Regions from separate parts of the Homo sapiens genome. Here regions 1, 2, 3, 4 and 5 are each linked to region 6. The links are contacts of gene promoters, found by promoter capture Hi-C in blood cells and fetal thymus (Javierre and others, 2016). All regions are on one chromosome and are shown on one strand. The core of a region is centred on a gene start or on the middle of the fragment in contact, and the rest is flanking DNA. Distances in the headings are between cores, read along the strand shown. Region 1 has its middle 58 kb from the start of LINC02687. Region 2 has its middle 5.4 kb from the start of LINC02696. Region 3 has its middle 26 kb from the start of LINC02696. Region 4 has its middle 40 kb from the start of LINC02687. Region 5 has its middle 24 kb from the start of LINC02687. Region 6 holds the start of LINC02716 (long intergenic non-protein coding RNA 2716).

Region 1 (3,862 bases), core at 670-3,169, 340 kb before region 6:
AAGAGGCTAATTCCTTGCCCAAGATCCCTCAGTAAGTGGTGGGTACAGGCATCAAGTCTGTCTGTCAGTCAGTCTGTCCACAGGGCCACTCACCTTCCCAGTACTCCACACTATCACCCAGGTAATGCGAAAAGAGTCATAGAGAATGAAGGGGAAGCTAATTTGGCCCAAGCCCCAAGGACTTGGAGAACTCAAGAGGGGCATTTCAACTTTAGCCTTCTTAGGGCAGGCCAGCCACCAAATGGGGTCTCACACATTTGAAGTGTCCACAGATATTAATTGGCAACCTGGAAATCCGGGCTGTCAGCCACTGGTTTTATATCTACGGAGAAGGGGCTGACTTCTATATGGTTGTCCTGCTCATCTCCCTATTCTCCTGCCTGCTAGGAGAAAAATTGTCCCTGGACCCACTTTCTTACCTGCACACTTGCTCTCGCACATCAGGTACCATGCTATTGATTCTGGTATCATCAAGGCTTGCCACGTTCCAAATGCCAATCTTCTTTTCCTTGTTGGGCCCCTAATCTTTTAGAGCAGCAGTTCCCAACCCTGGGCACCAATGAAAATTAACATAGGAGCTTTAACAAATACTCATGCCCAGGCCTTCTAGTCTGCATGAAGGCCCAGGCACTAAGCATTTTATTTATTTTTTCTTTTAAGACAGTGTCTCTCTCTGTCACCCAGGCCGGAGTGCAGTAGCACAATCATGATTCACTGCAGTTCGATCTCCCGGGCTCAGGGAATTCTCCCAATTCAGCCTCCCGAGTAGCTGGGACCATAGGCACACACTGTCATGCCTGGCTAATTTGTTTGTATTTCGTAGAGACAGGGTCTTGCCATGTTGCTCAGGCTGGTCTCGAACTCCTGAACTCAGGTGATCAGCCCACCTTGGTCTTCCAAAGTGCTGGGATTATAGACATAAGCCACCTTGCCCCACCAGGCATAAAAATTCCCCAAAAAGAAGCACCGCTTTAAAGAAATCCCTTGGAATATGCTGCAGACCCCCTAAGCACTGCCGGGGGTTTCCTTTCCACTCACATCAGCGTGTTCCATCCTATTAAAGCCCACAGAACACAAATCAAATGATTCCTGCTGGCCAGAGAATGGGTCTTTGGAAAACAGAGCTGAGGCTTGGTGCTTGCGTCCTGAGGCGAGTTCTAACTGTGTCCCTGCCAGTTCAGTTTCTGTGGCTTCAGAGCCATCGGTACCAGCATTATTCCTGTGCCATCTCACCCACGATATCCAAAGCCCCACTGAGACTTTTATTGTCCACTTTATATTGTTGAACAGGAGTCTTCGATGCTTGTGGTCGTAATTTTAAAATATTAAATTACATTGAGCATTAAGGGCTATGTTTTCTGTTAGGAGACAGGTTAATTGCGGCTCTTCATCTTTAATTTTGAGATTTAAGCTGGTTTCCCATTTAGCTCTAATTGGTAGTGTTCCGGCAACCCTCCCTGACCTCTGAAGCCTTTGATATGGTTTAGAAATCCTTTTATGGAAGCCCCTTTTTCTTTTGTCCTGCACATTTAATAGATTTGTATTTCCTCAGTCATCTTTCCTTCTGTGGAGATATTTCAAAATCACACCATGAGTCTGCAGGGAATAAATGCCTCCTTTCCAGCAAATATATATATTTTTTAACAGCGATTGGCAAAAGAGAATTAATTGCCTCCATTCACACACACCTCTTCCTTGCTGTGTTCCATTTTCGTACGGAGATTTTTAATCCTTTCTTCTGTAGCCAGTGTGAATTTGTCTGTGAATGCTCACGCTCTTAAAGTGACGTTCTGAAATAGACCTAAAGAGAGTATCCACTCCAATCACTCCATTTTACTGATAATAATATCACCATAATCATGCTTTATGTGTCAGGGGAGAGCACTTATTGTGGGGAGAGGGACAGGGGGTGGTAATGAGCCCCTTGTCCCTGGAGGAGTTCAAGCATAATTTGGAAGCAGCTTGTCAGACATATTGTAGAAGCAAATATAGCATAAGAACTAAGAGGTTTTCTGTCAGGAAGACCTGAATTTAAATCCCTGCCACTCCCTGAGCCTTGAGCAACTTAGGTGTCATCTTGAGCCTCCATCTCCCAGTCTATAAAATGGAGTTAATAATAATACTTACCACATAAAGCTATGGTGGAACTGGGTGAAATGATACCTGGCTCTTAGTAAGTGCTCAGTAAACGCAGGTTGCTGTTATTAAATGTTATAGATGGCATCCAGGCTTCAGTGGTCAAGAAAGGGTAGGAAGAGGGAAGACATCAACAAAGCGAGGTTTTTAGAATTATCTTCAATCCTCAGAACTCAACAGCCTGTTAGAGTTTACAAAGTGCTTTTTGTTTTTGTTTTTGTTTGTTTGTTTGCTTGTTTTTTGAGACAGAGTCTCGCTCTGTCACCCAGGCTGCAGTGGTGCCATCTCTGGAGTGCAACCTCCGCCTCCTGGGTTCAAGCTATTCTCCAGCCTCAGCCTCCCACGTACAGATGCTCGCCGCCATACCTGGCTAATTTTTGTATTTTTAGTAGAGATGGGTTTTTGCCATGTTGGCCAGGATGGTCTTGAACTCCTGACCTCAAGTGATCCGCCTGTCTCAGCCTCCCAAAGTGCTAGGATTACAGGCGTGAGCCACTGCACCCGGCCAGAGTTTACAAAGTGCTCTCATGCCTGTAATTTCAACTTATCTTCACCACTGTCCTTTACCCAGACTAAGTGTGGAGACATGGAGGCTCAGAGAGGTGAAGTGCCTTGCCCAAAGTCACACAGCATACAGATTCAGACATACCCTTCCTTCGTGCTGCTTTCACAAAACTCTGCCATCTATCTGTTCTGTGTCCTTCTGCTTTATCATGAGGATATTTCCTAAGATCCCAGGATCTGCCTTTGCACAGTGGGCATGCTCTTTGTCCTCCCAGACTCTTATTCCAAGGGAGATGTGTGCCAATTTAAATGCAGGACTTGGAGCTGTTTCTTTTATTCCTAAGTATGTAGGGCAATCAAGCAGTCCAATAATAATAATACATAATGTTGGATACTCATAATGTACTTGTTTCATCTGGCAGCCTTAGAATTTTAATTTGATACAAGGACCATTATTACTCTATATTCATTAAATCCCATGTTAACCTCTTTTAAAAATGCATTTTCTGACAATCATAGAAGACAATTTTACATGAGGAAAGTCATTTAGGGAAGAAGATCTGCTCAATAGGTTTTTCCTAGCCTGATTATGGGCTGGGCTGACCACCTCACCCATACCCCTCACTTCCCACATTTTCTATCCCACAGTTCTAGTCTCCCCTGGCAGAGTTTAACAACATCAAGTACAAGTGGCCATTCTCATGGGGGACTCCTGGATGCATCTGTAGGAGGGGCTTCCCACCAGCTCTGATCATAGCTCAGCCAGCTCCCAAGTGAGCCCCTTGGCAGAAAGAGGCCCTGTGTGCCTCACATGCACCAATGTAATGATACCAGGAAATTTTAAAGGCTCGTAATTATAAAAGATTCAACAATTAGAGGAAAGACAGAATAGTTCAGAGCAGAAGGAGAGGGAGGGGAGGGGAGGGATGATGTGGGAGGGGGTGGGGGAAGTGGGGTAGATCCTGCCTGACCTTATAGAATTATACACTCAGGATGGAGCTGGAGGCCATTATTCTTAGAAAACTAATGCAGGAACAGAAAACCGAACACTGCATGTTCTCACTTATAAGTGGGAGCTAAATGATGAGGACATATAGACACATAGAGGGGAACAACAGATACTGGCGCCTACTGGAGGGCTGGGCGGGGGGCGGTGGGAGGAGGGAGGCAATCGGGGAAAATAACTAATGGGTGCTAGGCCTAATGCCTGGGTGATGAAATA
Region 2 (3,694 bases), core at 1,195-3,694, 420 kb before region 6:
ATATATCTATGTTTGCTAACTTCCAACCGAAATGTAGCACTTTGGTTTGGAAAGCAGGCAACAAACCATAGTAATGTTATCAGTCCTCATTGTCACCAATAGAAATCACCGACATTTTCATGTATTACAGTTGCTACAGATATGTTGAAATCAAGCTCAGGCTCATCTGTGCAGCAAAATTGGCAATTAGATCCACTATTAGACCTTGTAACATAAAAGCATAAATAAAGAAGCATATATCGGCCAGGTATGGTGGCTCACGCCTGTAGTCCCAGCATTTTGGGATGCTGAAGCAGGCAGATCACTTGAGGTCAGGAGTTCGAGACCAGTCTAGTCAACATGGTGAAACCCTGTCTCAACTAAAAATACAAAAATTAGCCAGGCATGGTGGCAGGAACCTGTAATCACAGCTACTCTGGAGGCTGAAGCAGGAGAATCACTTGAACCCAGGAGGCAGAGGTTGCAGTGAGCTGAGATCGCAACACTGCACTCCAGCTTGGGTGACAGAGGGAGACTCCATCTCAAAAAAAAAAAAAAAGGAGCATATGTATGATTCAATCACCATTTTAAAATATATTTTGTATTTCAATAAGGCTGTAATCATATGTGTCTTCAGCATTTAAAAAGTTTTATTCCAAGGTGCCCCTAGGCTTCCCTGCCAGAGGTATCCCTGACATGAAAGAGGTTAAGAAGCCCTATCTAGACAAAAAAAGGCAGGCCTTATTTAGACCAGGGAGTAGTATTAATAGAAGGAGCAAGGCAGGGCAAAGGTACTATCTTTGATCCCGGCAAAGTACAGCTGGATATGGCAAAGCAATGCCTGACCCAACCTGAATGCCAGGTAGCCAGACAAACCAGTGTGGTCTAGAACAGTCTAGAAGAGCAAATTGCCTGGAAGGGTGCTGCTCATGACAATCCCAGGAAGCACAAACAAGGGAGCCCTTGAGGAAAATCTCCCCCAAAGTACCTGTGGTCACTGTTTAAAGCTCTGGCTTTGACCCAGGTCAGACCTGGCTCAATCCTGGCTTCATAATCACCTTTGGCAAGAAATGGTTCACCTAATCAGGGTGAACCTCAGTTTCTCTCTCCATCTGTAAAATGGTAATAATACCTCCCTTAAGTTTTTGTTAAAGTTATGTAATTTATTCATAAATATGTTAAACAAAGAAAGCAAATTACAGAATGATAGATACTTCATTTATGTACAATATTAAGTAATACAAAACTATGTTATATAATGTTTATAAAGACTTCTGCACTAATATAGAAAATTATGCGTGGGGATCAAAAACACCAAATTCAATTTCCTAGTGCTTATATATAGGAAATGGGGGAAAATAGGTTTGGGATAAAAAAATGATCTGTGTTTGTAAGTGGAGAATCTGAAATAAATACATATGGCAAAGATTAAGATTTGATAATGCTTTCTTTTAACCTTTATTTAAGTGACCTACAATAAGCTGAACACTTAAAAACATACAATTTAATAAGTTTTGGCATATGTATACTCTCATGAAACCATTACCATAATCCAGATAATGAACATATCCATCATTCCCAAATGTTACCTCATTACAACATGCCATGTTGTAATGGCTCATCTGGCAGCCTGACTTGAGAGTGTGTGCCTTCATCCTCCTGAAGAGGGTCAACTGTATTCCTTTATTATCTTGCTTATTCTGGAGAACCTGTAGTAATATCCTCTGTTTCATTCCTAATATTGGTGATATTAGAATGTTACCTAATATTCTTCTTTTTTGTCTGTCTTGCTAGAGTTTTATCCTTTAGAAAATATTTTCAAAAAACCAGCTCTTTTTTTTTAGTTGCTTTAATAGTTTTATTGCTTTCTATTTCTTGACTTTGCTCTTTATTATTTCTTTCTTTCAGCTTGTTATGGGTTTAATTTGCTTTTCTTTTTCTAGGTACTGTAGTTGGGAGCTAAGATTGTTGATGAGAGTTTTCCTTTCTTCTAATGTATGCTATGCATTTAGTGCTATAAATTTCCCTCAGCACTGCTTAGCTCTCTTCTACAAATTTTGATATGCTTATTTTCATTTTCATCCAGTACAGCATATTCTTTTGTTTCCCTTGAGACTTCCACTTTGACCCATGGAATATTTAGAAACGTGTTGCTTAGTTTCCACCTGTTTGGGTGAGTTTACTGTCATCTTTCTGTTGCCGTTCTCTAATTTGATTCCACAGTGGTCAGAGAACACACTTGGTATGATTTTAACTCTTTCAAATGCGTTAAAGTCTGTTTCATAGCCCAGAATGTGGTCGATTTTTGGAGTATGTTCCCTGGGCACTTAAAAAGAACATACCTTCTGTTGTCAGGTGGAGCATTCTATGAATGCTGATAAGATCATTTTGATTGATAGTGTTGCTGAATTTTTCTATATCCTTGCTGATTTTCTGTCTAGCTGTCCCATTAATTATTGAGAGAGGGGTGTGGATTTGTCCAGTTCTCCTTTTAACGTATCTATTTTTTGCTTCACATATTTTGCAGCTGTTATTTGGTGTGTACACATTTAGGGTTGATATTTCTTCTTGATGGATTGACCCTTTTATCATTTTGTCACATTGTTCTCTATCTCTGGTAATTTTCTTTGCCCTGAAATTTACCTTATCTGATGCTAATATAGCTACTCCCACTTTGATTGTTTGCATGATATATTTTTTCCATCCTTTCACTTTCAATCTGCCTATATTGTTAAATTTGAAGTGAGAATTTCTTACAGGTGGCATGTAGCTAGGTCATCATTTTCCTCTACTCTGCCAATCTGTGTGTTTTAATTGGTGTATTTAGACCATTGACATTTAATGTAATTATTGATATGTTAAGGTTTAAGTCTACCATTTTGTATTTTCTATTCTCATTTCTGTTTTCTCTTTCTTGCCTTCCTGTGAGTTATTTTAACTTTTTTGTTGAATCTCATTTTTATTTATCTAGTGTTTTTGAGTGTCTTTCTGTATATTCTTTTTAGTGGTTGCTCTAGGTATTTCATTTAATATATACATAATATCGCATTCTCTGGGGTCATCATTTTACCAATTTGAATGCAGTGGAGAAATTTTTACCATCCTCTATATCCCTTTACCTTCTCCCACTTATAATTGTCTTAAATATTTCCTCTACAAACATTTAGATAGATATCAGCAGATACAGGGGAAGTACTTTTTTGTTTGTTTTGTTGGTGGTCTTTGGCTGGAGTCAAGCAGTTATTGTCCAAAAGCCTTCTGTCTTGCTAAGTTGCCCCATTCTTAGTCCTTTATCTTAAGAAAGGTGGCTTTTCTTGGGACTTTTTTTTTTTTTTTGTCTGATGCCGTTAGCATTACTGGGTCACTGGCTTCCTCAGCTCTAGGTTTGGAATATATGAGGCAAAGGAAAACCCAGAAAATTTGCCAGCATGGTGCTCCTTAGATCACAAGGTTCCTAGTCATTCCACCTTTCTAAGTCTTCTTATGTTTGTTTTTTGTATAATGCCCAGGGGTTTTAGTTGCACTTTGTGGGAGGAAGAAGAGAAAGTACATTTACTCCATTTTCCTGGAAGCAGAAGCCCTGATGCATTTCTAAAGCTGGCCTCTTGTTCCACTTTCACAAAAGACATTTCCCTATGAAAGAGCGTTAACATCCCACTGCTCTTCAAAATGGAAAACAAGTTTGCAGTAAGAGACAAGATGATCAGCAAGGTTT
Region 3 (3,826 bases), core at 1,123-3,622, 440 kb before region 6:
GAACTAAGAGGTTGCTGTGAGAGTGATCTGAGCCTCTCAACTTAAAAAAAAAAAGATAATTACACTGGATCAAGCGGGAAGTTTTCCAGAAAAGGGAGCTACCAAAGTCATTCTGAACTCATGGAACAAGAGGAAGAGCTGTTAAAATTATACTTGCTTCTTAACTCAAGGATTCTTTCTTCATCTTGGTGAGCAAACAGCTTTGTTGAAAAATAAAGCTCAGACCAGCCAAGATTGGCCTCAAGGGGAGGAGAGTCTCAGAAGCTGGTGTGGTAATGGCCTCCAGCCTGGGGAAGGTGGTGTGGACTTTCCTCTCTGTTGGGTCAGTTTTGTGCAGAGCTGGGGAATACTGGGGAAAAGTGCTCCATCCCAGGGTGACCACCCAGCTCCATCAGTCCAGGGACAATGACACCATATTGATGTTGCTTCTGGCAAGGACCTGACCACTAGTTATTTCTGGGATTCTCTGGGGGTAAAAATAGGGTCACAAAACAGTTATAAAATATTACCTTTCTAATTATACTGCCAGCCCGTAAACTGTGGAACAGAACACGCTTTGTGGGGTTTAAGAACCAACTCTCCATCAGCACAAAGACCTCCCCTCTCTGCTTTCCGCACACTGTAAGTTTGCCCCTCTGGCTTCATTTCCAGCCCAGACACAGGCAGGTCAAGCTTGGAGATCAGGTCCTTCTGCTGCCTAGATCTGAACCAGTCACCCCTAAAGGGCCTTGGCTGCCCTTTTGTTCCTTTTGATGCTGGTGGGAGTATCAATAGGCATCACTTAGCACTGCCTGTGTACTTGCAATGTGCTAAGTCCTGAAGGCACAGGTCCCACTGTGATCCCATTTCACAGCTGAGAAAACTGAGGCTCTGAGCAGTCCTGTGGTCCTTCTCTTCCACAAAGCTGCTGTAAAGTCTGAAGAAAAGTCTGGGCTCCCTCGGTCTCTCTCCACCTTTGCAGCCTCCTTGCCCTTCTCCTCGACCCAGGCCATTCTTTTTCCTATCCTTTCTCCAACCAGATGTCACCCCAACACCTGTACACACCCCATCCAGCTCGGCCACAGAACTGACTCTCACTCAGGATGAAAGCAGTCTCCTTTCTTTTCAGTGAAAACCTGCCTTGACCCTTAAACCTGATGCTTGGCATTCCCTGATGCAACCAAACTGACTTCAGCCTGAGATCCAACATGAGGCTGAGCCATCAGGACTGCCTTGGCTGGACATTTCTCTCCCTCCTGCCAGGTACCCTGTTCTCAACCTCTGACTGGCTGTCACCTTCAGACTGCTTTTAATGGAGCAAAACGCAAGCTTTGCAATAATAAGGGGCTTCAACAAAAGCCTGTTCAGAACAGAGAGAGAATTTGAGGAATCTCAAAGCTGAAATCAGTCTGGTTAAGTTGGGAAATGCAGTGCTACAAGTTGGGCCAACAGCCCTAGAGGCCTACAGGGACAGAAGGACCCAATCTTTCTACACTTGGGTTTCTGTTCTTGTGTGGGTCCAATTTCTAGAGTTAAACTTCAGGCACAATTTCTAGATGTGCAACAGTAGTAGCTCTTATCAATGGAGCACTTCCAGTGTGCCTGGCTCTGTGCTGACCCCATTACATGGATTCATTATTTGGCTTCTAGAGTGGGTAGAATGGTGGCCCCCAAAAGATACATCTGTGTCCTAATGCCCAGAACCTGTGAATATGATCATATTTGGAAAATTGATCTTTGGTGATATAATTAAGAATCCTGGGTTGGAGTCATACTGTGTTATCTAGGTGGGCTCTCTATCCAATGACAAGTGCCTTTATAAGGGATCCATGAAGAAGAGACAGAGGGACAAAGATTGGAGTTCTGCAGCCACAACCCAAGGAACACAAAAAGGCAAGAATAGATTTTCTTTTTTCTTTTTCTTTTTTTTTTTTCGAGACAGAGTCTCGCTGCTTTTTCAAGACAGAGTCTCGCTGCTTTTTCGAGACAGCGTGTCGCCCACGCTGGAATGCAGCGGCACGATCTCAGCTCACTGCAACCTCCGCCTCCCGGGTTCAAGCAATTCTGCTGTCTCAGCATCCCAAGTAGCTGGGACTACAGATGCACATCACCACGCCCAGTTAATTTTTGTATTTTTAGTAGGGATGGGGTTTCCCCATATTGGTCAGGCTGGTCTCGAACCCCTGACCTCAGGTGATCCACCTGCCTTGGCCTCCCAATGTGCTGGGATCACAGGTGTGAGCCACCATACCCAGCCTAGATTTTCTCTATAGCGTTTGGAGGGAGTGCAGCCCTGCCGACACCCTGATTTCAGACTTCTAGCCTCTAGAACTGTGAGTGTGTAATTTTCTGTTGTTATAAGCCACCCAGTTTATAGTAATTTGTTACACCACCCAAAGGAAATAGAGGAGTCTCCCATCAACTCTGGAAAATAGACACAGTCATCTTCCATTTTATAGATTAGGAAACTGAGGCACAGGGCTTGGATAACTTGTCCAGGGTCCCAAAGGCAGGAAAAAGCAGCACCAAGATGAAAAACCAGTTAGAATGACCCCAGAGACCATCCTCCCAGCCACAGTCTGTGATGCCTCCTGCTCTGCTAGACTGCTGGAATGTGCCTAAAATAAGTAGGCATTTGTCCCCATTTTGCAGATGAGAAAAACAAGGCAACCGTGAAGTAACTGTTGGGGAAAATAAAACTGGGATGGAACATTGAAATTCAAAAGTAGTTCCTTGTATGCCTCTTTTCTTCATGCTCACAACCAGCCAGAGAAGTGGTTGTTACAACGTCCATCTTCCAGATGGGAAGATTAAAACAGTAGCTCTTTGAGGGAGGGACTGTTCACCATTGCTACCCTGAGCTAGCCCTGAGCCTGGCTGAGGTAGCTCAGGGAGGTGTGGTCATTCATCCAAGATCATGCAGCCTGCCAACATGAGGCCAGGGACTCAAGCCTGGGTTTTCTAATGCCAAAGCCTGTGTTTTCCCTCTGCTGAACAAATGCTGACCTCTGTTATCTCCAGACTATATGAGCAAATGGGTGGAGGGCAGAGAGACACTGTGAGGCCTGGAGAGAATGTTGGTGGCAGCTTTGAGACTGGGGTTGGGGGTGGTATGCCTTGATGACTAGAAGGGTTTGGACAGGTGAAGGAAACAGGACAGAAGAGATAAACTGACACCCAGCATGGGGATGCCAGGGTCTAGAGGCAGGAGGGAGGCTGGGAACCAAGGCTAAGGAAGGAAACCCAGATTTACTCTTCATCCTCCCTCTTCCTGAAGCTCTCCATGTACCCCAAAGCCCAGCCCCCAGTGATAACACTACAGGCCTGTGCCCTAATGGCAGGCCATGCATCAAAAGTCAGAAGATAGTGGGGCAGCCATGCTACTGCACACAACTTGATACATTTCCCAGGAGCCCTGGAATGTCGGCTCAGCTTCGGGAGTCACATCTGACTTCTCTAAGCTTCAAGGCAGTGTTCAGAAGTGAGAGGTGTCCTTCCTCTCCTTCTCATGAGTCTGTGTGGATGGTCAGAGAGCCGTATGTTCTCGTACACACCGTTTTCGAAAGGAGACAGTCCTTGACTTGAGTTTTAGGAATTCTCTTCCCAGTCTTTAGTCATTGATTTCTAGAAAAAAACCTTTTCCTCTTTATTATTTAACTTCTGCCTTCATCCCTGCCACCCAGGCTGAAGAACTGACAGTGAAGTATGCTTTCCTCAAAGGCAAGAGAAGGACAGGGTTATGGAGAGAGTCCTGGCCACGAGACGGGATCTCAGGGGTTTAGTATTAGCTCTGCCTTTAATTGGAATAGTGAGGATGAGTTTGGGTGCTGGAGTCAGACAGGTGCAG
Region 4 (3,645 bases), core at 433-2,932, 360 kb before region 6:
GTGTGCCCCACTGACCACAATCGCACTCGACCTGAGTCATGCTCCCTGGAGAAGGGGCCTGATGTCATCGAGAGCTGGCAGAGGAGAGGCATAGACAGGCTGCTGCTGTTAAAAATGACACCTCTGCAGGCTGCTGTGATACTGTGTGTGGGCCAGCTCTGTCCTCTATCTTCTCCTCTCCCTGTGGCACTGCCCTAGCAGGGCCTGCCTGCATTGCTCATTGCTCCAGGCTTTATGTTTGGAGAAGAGAGAGAGAGAGATGAACTGGGGCCCAGGAAAATATGCAAGTGGGGGCTGTGCATGAGGACCATGGCTCTGCTGCTTACCAGCTCTGGGAGCTTGAGCAAATTGCTTAAGCTCTTCTTGCCTCAGTTTACTGCTCCGTAAAATAGGGATGGGATTGTTGTGATGGTGAGAAAAGAGCTTGTCTGTGACCATGCCTGGCACAGGCACACAGTAAGCTCAATAGATTGATCAAATATTCTCTTTTCTTTCTGGCGACTGGCAGGTCCGCATTCCAGGAAGAGGGCAGAAAGAAGTGGGAAGACTGTGCTTCTCTCTCTCTCCCTGTCTTTCTCTCCCTCTCTCATTTCCTCCTTCCCTTCCCTTTCCTCAGAGCAACAGAATGACCTGTCTCTCAGAATGAGCCTGGGCCCAGGGAGCTACATTCCCAACCTGCCTCTGAAAGGCAACCCTGGAGGGCAGGTCCTCTCAGCAGGCTTGGACACCCTCTGTCCCTCCATCTTCTCCCTTTAGGTTCAGACCAAGGCTGCGCCCTCACCCAATTGCCTTTATTCTGAACCTGCTGCAAGACAAGCTTCCATCTTCTGCAGGAATAAGTATGGCTGGAAAAAGTGCAGGCCAAGGAGTCAGCCCTGCACCTCCCTGGCCAGGGGCACTGCATACATTCCTGGCCTGGTGACTTCACGCATCTTTAGGGCAGGAAGAGTACCCTGGCAGGGCTGTTAGGAGGACTTGCTGAAATGACATTCTTAATGCTGCTAGTTCAGAGGGCTTTAGTCCACGTCCTTCACTCCTATAAATTTCCTTTCACTCTGTGCAAAGTGCAGAGGTTGTCAGGCAGCAGCTTCAGAGCCCCTGACTCCCCTGGGGCATGGTGGCCCTCACTGGATCTGCTTCCTCCCTCGAGGTGGGGGCCTTCCCTGTCTGTCTGTGAGTACCCTGGTCAGCATGTGGGTCTGTCTCTTGTCCGATTTCCCTTCCCTTGTCCTTATCACCCCTCCCAACCCGACCCCCGACCAGGACAATGCCAAGGTTTGCAGGAATTCTCACCCACACCCCGCCTCCACCTCCCTGCCCTTCCTCTCTGTGGGGAGCCCTCTGTGTCGCACAGAAAGAGAGCAGCAGATGTTAAAGCCGTGTTCCCTTGTCCGCACTCAGCCCGCTGGGGTGTTTGATCTCTGGCTTAACAAGTTCAGCCATTTTTCTGAAATGAGGAAAAGATTCAGACAGAGAAAGAGGGATGGAGACAAAGAATGAGAGAGACCATAAGATAAAATGATCCAGAGACTGAGAGGAAGATAGAAGAGAAAGACAAAGCAAGGCAAACACAGAGAGAAAGAGAGAGAGACTAGAGCAGGGACCACCTTCTCTTACAATCCTCACCTTCCCCCTTCCCCATTCTCCCACCTCTCACCTGACCTCCTGCCCTGCCTCCCACCCTGCCTCCCACCCTGCCTCCCAGGCCCTGATGACTGGTGACCATCAGCCTTGTAGCCACCATATCAACTCTGAGTGACCGTGCCCTCCCTGGGGGAGGTTACAGCCTCTCTCCTGTGTGACAGGGCATTTGCTTAAGATTCAAAGGCCTCTGATACAGAGGACGCTTCCCTCACAAGCTGGGAAGAGTAGCCCTGTGGTCCGGAGGGCTGGCTGGCAGGGGACAAATGGGCTGCCAGGATGGAGCCAAGAACTCCTGCTTTGCTCACTCCTGGGGCTGAGCAGCCTTTCAGGAGCACCCGGGGAGCCAGCAGTGAAGCCCTCCCTCACTCAGCATTAACTCCAAATTTATTTCTTGCTCTGCCTCTCCCTCCCCTCTTCCCTCTCCCCTCCTTTGTCTTCCCAGTATTCGATTTCCTATTTGAGAACCGTTCCAGCCTGTGCCACTGCTGAAATCCCATCCTCGGTAACCAGTGAAGGCTGTTTTAAGCCTGTGAGTCAGAGACCAGTGCTGGTTTTTATTAAAGGCAAAAGGAAAATAATCTGATTTTTAAAAAGCAAAACACCTTCTTAATGTTTCATGGGACATCAAACTGTCTGAGATAATATCTTAAAACACTCATATACACATGATAGCCCCCAACCCCTTCCCAGCCTCAGGTGGGAGTGTCAAACCTGCTTGGGTTATTTTTTTCCCCGGGCTAAATGTTTCTAGGTCACTTCCATCCTCCCCCACTGAGAGCTCCCATACAGGAAACGCTAAGGATTCCACTCCAGTCCCCGAGCCTCCATAATTAATGGGATCACTGGAAACCAGCCGGAAGGATGCTAGGGGCGAGGGGTCTTATCTCTCTGGTCTCCAGGCAGAGAAGCTTCTCGCCAGATGAGATGCTGAGTCTATGCAGGCCCTCGGGCCACATCTGCTGACACTGATCCAGCTCCTTACTAGCCCACCTGGGGCTGGCAGTCTCGGGGCCTCTTTCTCTTCCTGCCCCACCACCCTCTGGAGCTGTCTCTTTCTATAATTCTTCCCTCGTCGAGTCTATTAGCGTTCTCCGGCAGGCTCTGCCAAGCTCAGCTGCATCTCCTTGTCTAGTTTATATTAGAAGAGAAAGCTCTGGCGTGTTTTCCCCTTACCTGAGGAAAGAGATGCTTCTCTTTTTCAAGACACTCATAGCCTTTGATGAAGCCCAAGAAAGGCTTAAATTATAATGAAATGCAGTCATCTCCAGACGAGATTACCCGGGAGTGCTTCCGGCTGCCTTGTGAAAACGGCCTTCCAGCAGAAAGGTAGCTGGGTGCAGGGGCTGCCCTGGATGCCTGTATGGCCCTGTGTGCAGCTTGTCACCTGCCTGCCCCTCCTCCCTGCCTGGACTATTGCAGTAACCTCCCGACTGGGCTTACCACCTCCTGTTTACCTCCCCTCCCCTGCTGATTCTTTCCTGCTCTGGTCTGATCACTTTCCTTCTCAGAGACCTTCAGTGGCTTTTAAATTCCCAGTTCAAATGCCCCCTCCACTCCTTCACCCAGCCCTCCCAACACCTTCCAGGTGGGCTGCACTGCACCACCTCACTGACATCCCTGCCTACCACTGGTCTGGTCTGTAGCCCAGATTAAAAATAAAAACAAAAAACAAAAAACACTTCACTTGTCCTGCTTGGGATTATCATTATTTGTATATTTGAGAAAAGAAAGAAAATAGCCCATATGGACAAAGGCCCACCATGTGCCAGGTGCAAATGTCAACCTGCCTTGGAGTCACACAGACCTGGGTTCAAACCCTCACTCTGCCCACTTACAGCTAAACGCCCCAGAACAAGTTTACTCCTATCTCTGAGCTTGCTTCCCTATCTGTTAAATGTGACTAATGATACCTACCTCATAGGACTGCTATGGCGGTTAAGGAAGACTAAGTGCTGAGCACATAGTAATTGCTCAATAAATACTAGCTGCTCTGCTTTTTAA
Region 5 (3,934 bases), core at 473-2,972, 380 kb before region 6:
GCTGCACAGCAGCCACAGGCCCAAAGACTCCTCACTCATGCAGTCAAGGATCACCCGTCCTCAGTGGCTCAGCTAGGGAAAATGTATTTAGCGCTGTTGGGGACTAGGCCCTGCCCTCAGGCCTGGAGGTCTGGAGGATGAAGATACATTCCTGTCCTTCAGAAGCTTGTGCCATGGCAAGAGAGAAAGACACAATGCAATTATGATGCCAGGCCCGGAGAGCCATGGATTATTCTGGATGTATAGCCATGGTTCATTCTCTGAGGGAGTTGAGACAGCAGAGGAAAAAAAATACTGCACCAGAAGCAAGAACACAGATTCTGCGAGGGGACAACAGTGGGAGGGGTGGTCTTTGTGTGTGTCGGGGGCAGGGGAGACGGGGTGGAGGCAGAACTAAGGAGACCCTCCCCTGCACCACGCTTTGGCTGGATCTTGAGGGACACGTGGACATTGATGGGGAACAGAGGACTCCGAAGGGCGCTGCCGGGGGTGGAGAAGGTCTGCCGAAAGGCATGGAGGTGCAGAAGGGCAGGGCACAGCCGAACTGCAAGGTGTAGAAGGCCAGCTGGGAAGGGTTCTGATACCAAAGGATTTTGGACTTTGTCCCACAGGCACTAGGGATGCAGAGACAGATCCTAGGAAGGAGGAGCGTCAGAGTGAGCCAGAAAGATCCCTCTAGAAAAGCTTTTCCCACTGTAGTGAGGCTGATGGAGGCAGGAGGCCGGCCAGGAGGCTTTGGCCATGCCCACGAGGAAGGGAATGAGAGTGTCTGACCTCAGGCACTGGTTGTGGGCACAGAGGGTAGAGGGTAGTGGATGTGGGGAGTGAGGAAGGCGGGTTTCCTGGCTGCCTCTGAGGTTCCAGCATAAGGAGAACCCAGACAGGCAGGGGCAGTGTTAACTTTAGTCCTTCCTGACCTCCGGCCTGGTCCACCTTTGCTGAACCACCCGGTCTCTCTAAAGCCTGAGCAATGTAAACACCCAGCTGGGCAGGTTCCAGTCCCCGCTCCCCAACCCCTAGCTGCGCAACTTCGGACAAGTCACTCCCCATCTCTGACCTTCTGGGCTTTAGTTTCCTTATCTGGAAATGGGATGACCTGGAAGCAGGGCTAACATGAGGATTATAAACTCTGTGTTTGTTTCAGATTGGTCCTGGCAGGAAACAAGCTCATTCAAATTGGGTAATTGGAAGGGAGTTTTTAAAAGGACTATTTCCAAAGATCTGGGTGGGTGTAGAAAAATCTCAAGGGACAATTCGGTGCCCAGGGCTGGTGACAGTCATCCCAGTGACCACCCGGAAGCCTATATGGGGAGGGCCACCTGGCAGGGGCTGGGGCTGGGGCTGCAGCAGCCTCCCTCTGACCATTCAGATGGGGAGCCCTGGTCCCTGGGCTTCAGTGGTCTATACCCCAGGAGACTGAGTGTGGGTCTCTCCTTGAGTGTGAGAAAAGCAGTGGGCAGCCCCAGCCAACAATCAGTCTCATATGGAGGTCATAGGAGATTCACTTTCTTGATCAGCCTCCTAGAACCAGGCCAAATCAGGGGGACAGGCCAAGGGAAGCTGCTGATTTAAAATTCAAATGTGTCCAAAGCCCTCACCCCAGGACCTGAAGTTCCCTTTTCCACTTTCTATGCCCCATCTCTCTCTCCTGCTTCTTTTCTTCCCTCCGTCTCTGTCTTTCCTCCTCCACTCTGTACCTCCCTTCCACCTTTCTCCTCTTCCTCTTCCTTCCTCCTCTCTTCTCTCTCTGGCCTTCTCTCCCTATCCCCCACCTCTGACCTTACTTAACAGCCAACACCGTCCAAGAGACACTCCTCAGTCAGAATCGCCCTCACTTTTTGACTTCACATTTGTGGACCTTGGCCTGAGGGAGATGTGGTGTTGTGCAGGTGTTGGGGGCCCCAGTCACCCTGGTGGCTGTGTCTAACACACGGAGGCTCTTGGGGAATCCAGAGAGGTGTAGAGCCTTAGCCTTCCATTTCCACCAGCAGTTCTTGACCATCCGCAGTAACTGGCCTAGTCAGTGCCTGGCTGCCCAGCACTGTCTGGACATCAGTGGGATGATGGTCAGTCCTGGGGAGGAAGCAGCTGCTCCATGAGAAAGAGTATGTGTCTGCGTGTGTGTGTGTGTGCGTGCGTGTGTCTCTGTTTGTAGGGAGCAGGCCGGGATTAGCCAGAACAGACAAACTTTTTCAGGTGAATGATGAACAAGGACAAAAAAGATGGGAACCATTTAAATTGTACCTAGTGTGTGCTAGGCACTGGGCAAGGGGCTTGCACATACTTTATCTAATTCTCACATTGGCCCTACATGGTTCTACCCATTTTAGAGGTGAGGAAAGCAGTATTGAGGACCAGCTAAAGGCTCGTGTCTGTGATAGGCTGTGTGAGGACTAGGGAACAAGAGTAAGCGCAGTACAAGTCAACAACACTATTAGTTGGGCACCTACCATGTGTCAGGCACTGGGTTATAAGGAAGCCTCCATGCTTGTCTGGCACAGTTCCAGAGCAGAGAGAAATGAAGCTGGTGACCAGAGAACCCTGCGACATCAGGAGTGCAGATGACTTAGGCATCTTCTAGAAGTGCAACTCCTCCATTGAACAGATGGGCAACTGAAGCCCAGAGGGAGGAAGTGTTTTCCCCGAAGCCACATGGCGAGTCCTCTCGTTCTAGCTCACAACACTGCTTCCAAGGACGTTTCTTCTGCTTCTAGGCTCCCCCTGTTTTGAAGCTGATTTTTATTCCCTCACTTAAACAATTAAGCTTTAATACACTAAAAACAGATCATTATCTTCCTAAGGTTTAAAAAGCAAGATTACTATTTGTAACACAAGTAATTAGCTACCTTCTGGTGTTTCCTTACACTCCTCTTCCCCAAAGGATTATGCTTTTTTATGTTGCAGAGGGCCCAGCAGCTAGATGTGATGGCCAAAGCTGTGGCCCTGGAGGAGGCAGAGGGAGGATCCTGGGATCTTGGGAGCTGGAAATGCTCCAAGTAGGGAGGAAAGGGGGCTAGGGTTGGCTGTGGGGGATCTGCCTACGTGCAGAGTTCCTCTTTAGGGGTGCGGGCTTGGTTCTGACGTCACTGGACCATCCCAGCCCAGATTGTTTGTTTCCTGGGCCACATTGCTGCTCTGGATAAAGATGGCCACTGCCTCAGGGATTTACGGGGGTGTAAATCAACTGTAACACCAGATGTGGAATCTTCCCATAGAGGATCTTCAAGGGGTCTATGAGCCCTCTGCATTCAAATGAAATGTCTGGATCTTTTTCTAATTGTTTGGGAATAGGGTCCATGGATTTCATCAGATAATTTTAATGGTAAAAGGAAGATTCATTGATTTTTTTCTTTCATTTGCTTTGTTATGAAATATGAAGAAGCACATATAAAGTGTATGTGTCTAATGTAGAGAATAATGAAACAGCCAGATGGAAGAGATGCCTACAGTGAGGTAAGGGAGAAGAGGCGTGGAGCTTCCATGCCCTCTCTGGGCACACTGCCCTCCAGGGACCTCCGTGTGTTCAGCAATCCAGAAACTCTCCAAACCCTGTCGTTCAGGGATTTTTATGGAGGCTTCATCACATAGGTGTGGTCACTTGTGTACCAACCATACAGATGGAGAAGAAATAGGAACCTGTCAATGTCTCGGAAACCTCCTCCCATAGGTCCTTCAGGATTATACCTCCCTCCTCTCCCCGGAGATAACTATTATCCTAATTTTTGTAAAATTATCATTCCCCTGGCTTGCTTTATAGTTTTCCCACCTGTGAATCTATTCCAAAACAACATATTGTTTAATCATGCCCGGTTTTGAACTTCTAGTGGATTTATACTATAAATATATAGGGGATCTTTTGAGGTTTATTCCTGCCCACGTGTGGACCTATGGTTTTTTCTGTTTCTCTGCACTCTGGTCTTCCGTTACGTGACTC
Region 6 (4,120 bases), core at 679-3,178:
GAGGCCTCCCTCAGCCCCCAGGAAAGGACTCACAGCCCAGCCAGCAAGGAGACAGGAGGAAGATATCACAAAGTGAGTGCAGCTTCTGTTAACTGCCTTAAGCTGCTCCCTGCAATAATGTTGGTGTAATCCATAAGATTCAATTATGGTTATCAGACAATTAGGCACACCACAGCGAGGTTATTGCATAATTAATGCTCAGTCCCCATCTCAGCCTCTGAGAGTGACACAGGTTACAAGATTCACCTGCCCCGCATCTGGGAGAGGAGCAGGGGCACCCAGGATGGGGAATGACCTCCCTGTGGGCTCAGAGGAGGATGTTCTTAGGACCCCAGAGGCATGGCAAAGGGACAGTGTGTGGCTGAAAGAGCTTGAGTCAGTGTGTGCCCAGGGCCCTCACGCCTGCCATTGTGTTTAGGACTTGGGCTTTAATCTCTGGAGCGAGATTCAAATCCTGCCTCAACTACTGATTGGCTATATGGCATTAAGCACTCGCCTTACATTTTTAAAGCCTCCATCTCCTTGTCTTTTAAAGAAGGGAATTGATGATGTTATGAAAACTGGATGAGAGAGTTTGCATATTGGTTAGATGGTTCCTGCAGTACTATTTTCATTATTTCCCTCTCTGAGCCTCAGTGTCTTCATCTGTAAAATGGGAATAATTAGCCTCACCTTGCCTAGGCTTGAAAGATCAGCCGGTAGTTTGAGACCTGCCTGGGCAATATAGCAAGACCCTGTTCACCACAAAAAAGGAAAAAAAAAAGGATGAAAGATCAGTTTGTGAGTCAAGTAAGACACACATGTGAACGGGATGTGTGGAGTGCTTTGCTAACGCGCCATTGTCTTAGTTACTATGTGCCTGGTTTTCTGCTCAACCCTCCAGGGTACGACTTTGTACAAGTCCCCAGGTCTCAACAGGACAGTGGGTGATCAGCCCACCTGAGAAGTGAAACTCATGATTTGGGTGAGTAGACTAGAGGAGAATCACTTCTTTCTTTCTTTTTTTTTAGACGGAGTCTCGCTGTGTCACCCAGGGATCTCAGCTCACTGCAACCTCTGCCTCACCGGTTCCAGTGATTCTCCTGCCTCAGCCCCCCGAGTAGCTGGGATTACAGGCACACGCCACCACACCTGGCTAATTTGTTATTATTAGTAGAAACGGGGTTTCACCATGTTAGCCAGGCTGGTCTTGAACTCTTGACCTCAGACGATCCACCTGCCTCAGCCTCCCAAAGTGCTGGGATTACAGGCATGAGCCACCATGCCCGGCCTGAGAATCATTTCTTGAGCTATGATCTGTAACATTCAAATGAGCCTCAACGGACACAAAACAGAAAAATCATCAAAAATGTCGGTGAAAAGTTCAGGTGGGAGAACTCAGGTGATGGTGCAGACAGAAGCAAGTAGGGGAGAAAGCTGGCTTCAGGGAGAGTGGTTAGGCCTTTGTGAGAAAGACTGGGGACTTCTCATATCATCCTCTGTGTCCCAGTTCCCAAAACACACACGCACATGGGCACATGCATGCAGGCACACAAAAACAAGCCCATACACCAGACGAAAAAATACAGATGCAGGTACACACACATGGACATGGACATGTGTGTGCCTGTGCCCATATAAACAAACATTAGTGCACACACACACTCACACACACACAGGCTCGGGCAGTATGTGCTCACACACAACCATACACACAGATACGCACAGAGGTACATTCACACACAGACCAACACACACAGGCACACAGATGCATGCACGCATGCACGTGCGCGCACACACACACACACGTGCACCCACCCTCAGTGATAACCTTCCAATCCACTGGCCTCTCCGAAATTAGCACAGACCATTTTCCCACGACCCTTTCTCGCTGAGCGTGTGATTCCAAAACTGTCCACAAGAAGGTGCTCGGGAGCCAGAATTCAGGCGTTCCCGGCCCGCGGACGCTTAGAGAGGGGAGCTTCGGAGTTATGGGGGGACCCACCCTTCCATTTAATAACTGAGAAAGCCACGGGAGGGGACTTGCTGGGCTCACAGCCAGTGATCCCTGCCCTGTTTCCTTATGGGGACTGCGGTCAGAAATGGGGAGTGGGGCAGAAACTGTCACTGTCACGGTCCTGTTTAGAGAGGAAGGTCGGAGAAACCAGTGCCGTGGAAGGCTCTGGGGCGTTGACAGGCGCTGTCCCCAGCTCACCGGCTCTATGACCCTGGGTAAGTTACCTGGCTTCTCTGTTCCTCAGTTTTCTCGTCTTCCCTGACCCAGGCTTTCCCGACTCCTCTAGGGGCCCCTTCCCCTCTCCATGAACACCTTCAGATCTCGGACTGTTTTCTCCACTCAAGTGGCATCTCAGCTATCCCCTCCCGGGTTAGGCCTCCCTGGCCCCTATTTAACGGTGTCCCCACCCCCACCACTATCTTGTTTGTACCAACACTTGCTGCCTGACAATGCACACTTGTTCATTTGTTCACGTTTATTTTGTCTTCTCCAGAAGAATGGAAACTTCGTCAGAGCAGGGACGTGAGGGTGAACTGCTCACCCGGGCACCGCTGGCGACCGGAACCCAGCTCCCTCCGGGCTCCGGGAGAGGCGGCCTCAGCTGTGTGCTGGTGCTGCCCTCCAGCGGCGCTGGGTCCCCATGGCACCTGGCTTTCTCCTGCTCCCCAGGGGCCTTTTCTTCTCCCGCCCACCTGTCACCAGCCGCCAGGGCAAGTCTCTGTGTGACTCTAGGGTGAAGGTGGAGGGACCTTGCCTCCGAGGATTCATCCCACCCGGATTCCGATGAGTGAGGGACCCTCTCTGGCACCTGGTGTTTGAATGGCCAGCCTCACAGTTAATAAAGACAAGTTTGGTATCAGCTGTGGGATCCGTCCAGAAAAAGACACCTTTGGGGCAGAAATATAATGGTGCCTGTCTCGACATAGTCTAATAAGGAAAGAAAGACAAGCCAGTCCAACGGTCCCATTTTACACATGAGGTCACTTCATCCCCACCTAGGACAGGAGGGTACAACGGCCTGGCCTAAGATAACCCTAGAATATGGTCACTCATTCTTCCACCCACTGAGAACCTCAGGGCAGTAGAGTTTTATGCAAAGCATGTGGTCCTGAAAAACTTGCATAATTCAAAGCGTGCATAATTTCTGACTAATTTTGCCAGAGAAATGAATGCAAAGTAGAAAGGATAGGTTGCATACATTACTCCAATTGTGGCATATTTTTGCCTTAATGCTGCTTTTTATTTCCCTGGCATTATCGCTAATATTTCATAACGCACTCTCTGCTAAATTAACAGTGCAGCATTTCCTGCCGGTGGTTTGGCCTTCTTCATAACGTTTTATCACATCTCACTTCCTTTCCAATGTTATCGATTTTCAGGTGCGTTTTTCAGCACCACCACTTAAAGAACACTTGGATGACATTGTTACAGGATATGGGTAAAATATTTAAAGTTATAATAACTGTGAACATTGAGAAAATGGCACACCAGTCACCAGAATCTCCTGCAGAAATTAGAAATTCAGAGGCATGTAAACAACAGTGCATGCATATAGAAAGCAGGTATTTCTATTTAATAACCAAAGCAACGTCGCCATGTGGCAGGTTTACAGTCCTCATTTAACAGCTCACTTAGTTCCTCCGACTCAAGGAAACTGCAATTCTTGACAGGTTTTTTTTTAACTGAGGGGCTTGGCATTATTTCCAGCTTAGTGCATAAACATGTATTAGCATTTTTATATTGCACCTTGCCAAAGTCACAGTTTAGACTCCCATAAACAGTGACTTCACCCTAAATGGTCACCCTAAATGGTTAAGGCTGTGTCCTTAACCCCAGAAGGGTGGAAATGTATGACTCCACCTAGTCATCTCAGATACGGATTTCAGAAATCTCAGCCACCCACCTCATACTTACACAGGGACCTTTTTGGAGGCAGCATCATCTGAGGCCGCTCTTGCCCAATTTGGCTGGCCCCACCTCCTCCCCAACGTCATCTTCTCTTGCAGTCTAGAGAGGGGGGCTACTCCCCCAATATAGCATCCATATTTAGATCCATGTTGGAGGGTGGGTAGAAAGGGGAGGTAGGATGAGGGAAAATTGAGTCTCAGTTTCACACATTTGTAA

What was found. Contacts are between HindIII fragments. The CHiCAGO score rates a contact against its expected background, and 5 or more counts as called.
Region 1: a fragment that was not itself captured here is called in contact with the fragment with the promoter of LINC02716 in region 6 in 1 of 17 cell types (endothelial precursors); the score reaches 6.2 in endothelial precursors.
Region 2: a fragment that was not itself captured here is called in contact with the fragment with the promoter of LINC02716 in region 6 in 7 of 17 cell types (endothelial precursors, M1 macrophages, M2 macrophages and 4 more); the score reaches 14.6 in endothelial precursors.
Region 3: a contact is called between a fragment that was not itself captured here and the fragment with the promoter of LINC02716 in region 6, in 2 of 17 cell types (endothelial precursors and fetal thymus). The highest score is 6.2, in endothelial precursors.
Region 4: a fragment that was not itself captured here is called in contact with the fragment with the promoter of LINC02716 in region 6 in 3 of 17 cell types (endothelial precursors, M1 macrophages and M2 macrophages); the score reaches 9.8 in endothelial precursors.
Region 5: a fragment that was not itself captured here is called in contact with the fragment with the promoter of LINC02716 in region 6 in 6 of 17 cell types (endothelial precursors, M1 macrophages, M0 macrophages and 3 more); the score reaches 9.3 in endothelial precursors.

What each region holds. Positions count from the first base shown.
Region 1 is chr11:45,427,170-45,431,031 of GRCh38, forward strand. No RefSeq gene overlaps it. Among named protein-coding and RNA genes, the nearest start is that of LINC02687, 58 kb to the left of the region's middle. The HindIII fragment of the contact is 4,489 bases long and covers 1-3,862 here.
Region 2 is chr11:45,348,125-45,351,818 of GRCh38, forward strand. No RefSeq gene overlaps it. Among named protein-coding and RNA genes, the nearest start is that of LINC02696, 5.4 kb to the right of the region's middle. The HindIII fragment of the contact is 5,570 bases long and covers 1-3,694 here.
Region 3 is chr11:45,327,956-45,331,781 of GRCh38, forward strand. No RefSeq gene overlaps it. Among named protein-coding and RNA genes, the nearest start is that of LINC02696, 26 kb to the right of the region's middle. The HindIII fragment of the contact is 2,132 bases long and covers 1,307-3,438 here.
Region 4 is chr11:45,409,699-45,413,343 of GRCh38, forward strand. No RefSeq gene overlaps it. Among named protein-coding and RNA genes, the nearest start is that of LINC02687, 40 kb to the left of the region's middle. RefSeq lists enhancers at 1,428-2,088, 2,089-2,750. The HindIII fragment of the contact is 1,735 bases long and covers 816-2,550 here.
Region 5 is chr11:45,393,522-45,397,455 of GRCh38, forward strand. No RefSeq gene overlaps it. Among named protein-coding and RNA genes, the nearest start is that of LINC02687, 24 kb to the left of the region's middle. The HindIII fragment of the contact is 2,080 bases long and covers 683-2,762 here.
Region 6 is chr11:45,769,504-45,773,623 of GRCh38, forward strand. It overlaps LINC02716 (long intergenic non-protein coding RNA 2716), which reads left to right and starts at 1,929. Exons shown (of 2, transcript NR_027134.1): 1 at 1,929-2,211; 2 at 2,490-2,855. RefSeq lists an enhancer at 1,621-2,122. The HindIII fragment of the contact is 20,811 bases long and covers 1-4,120 here.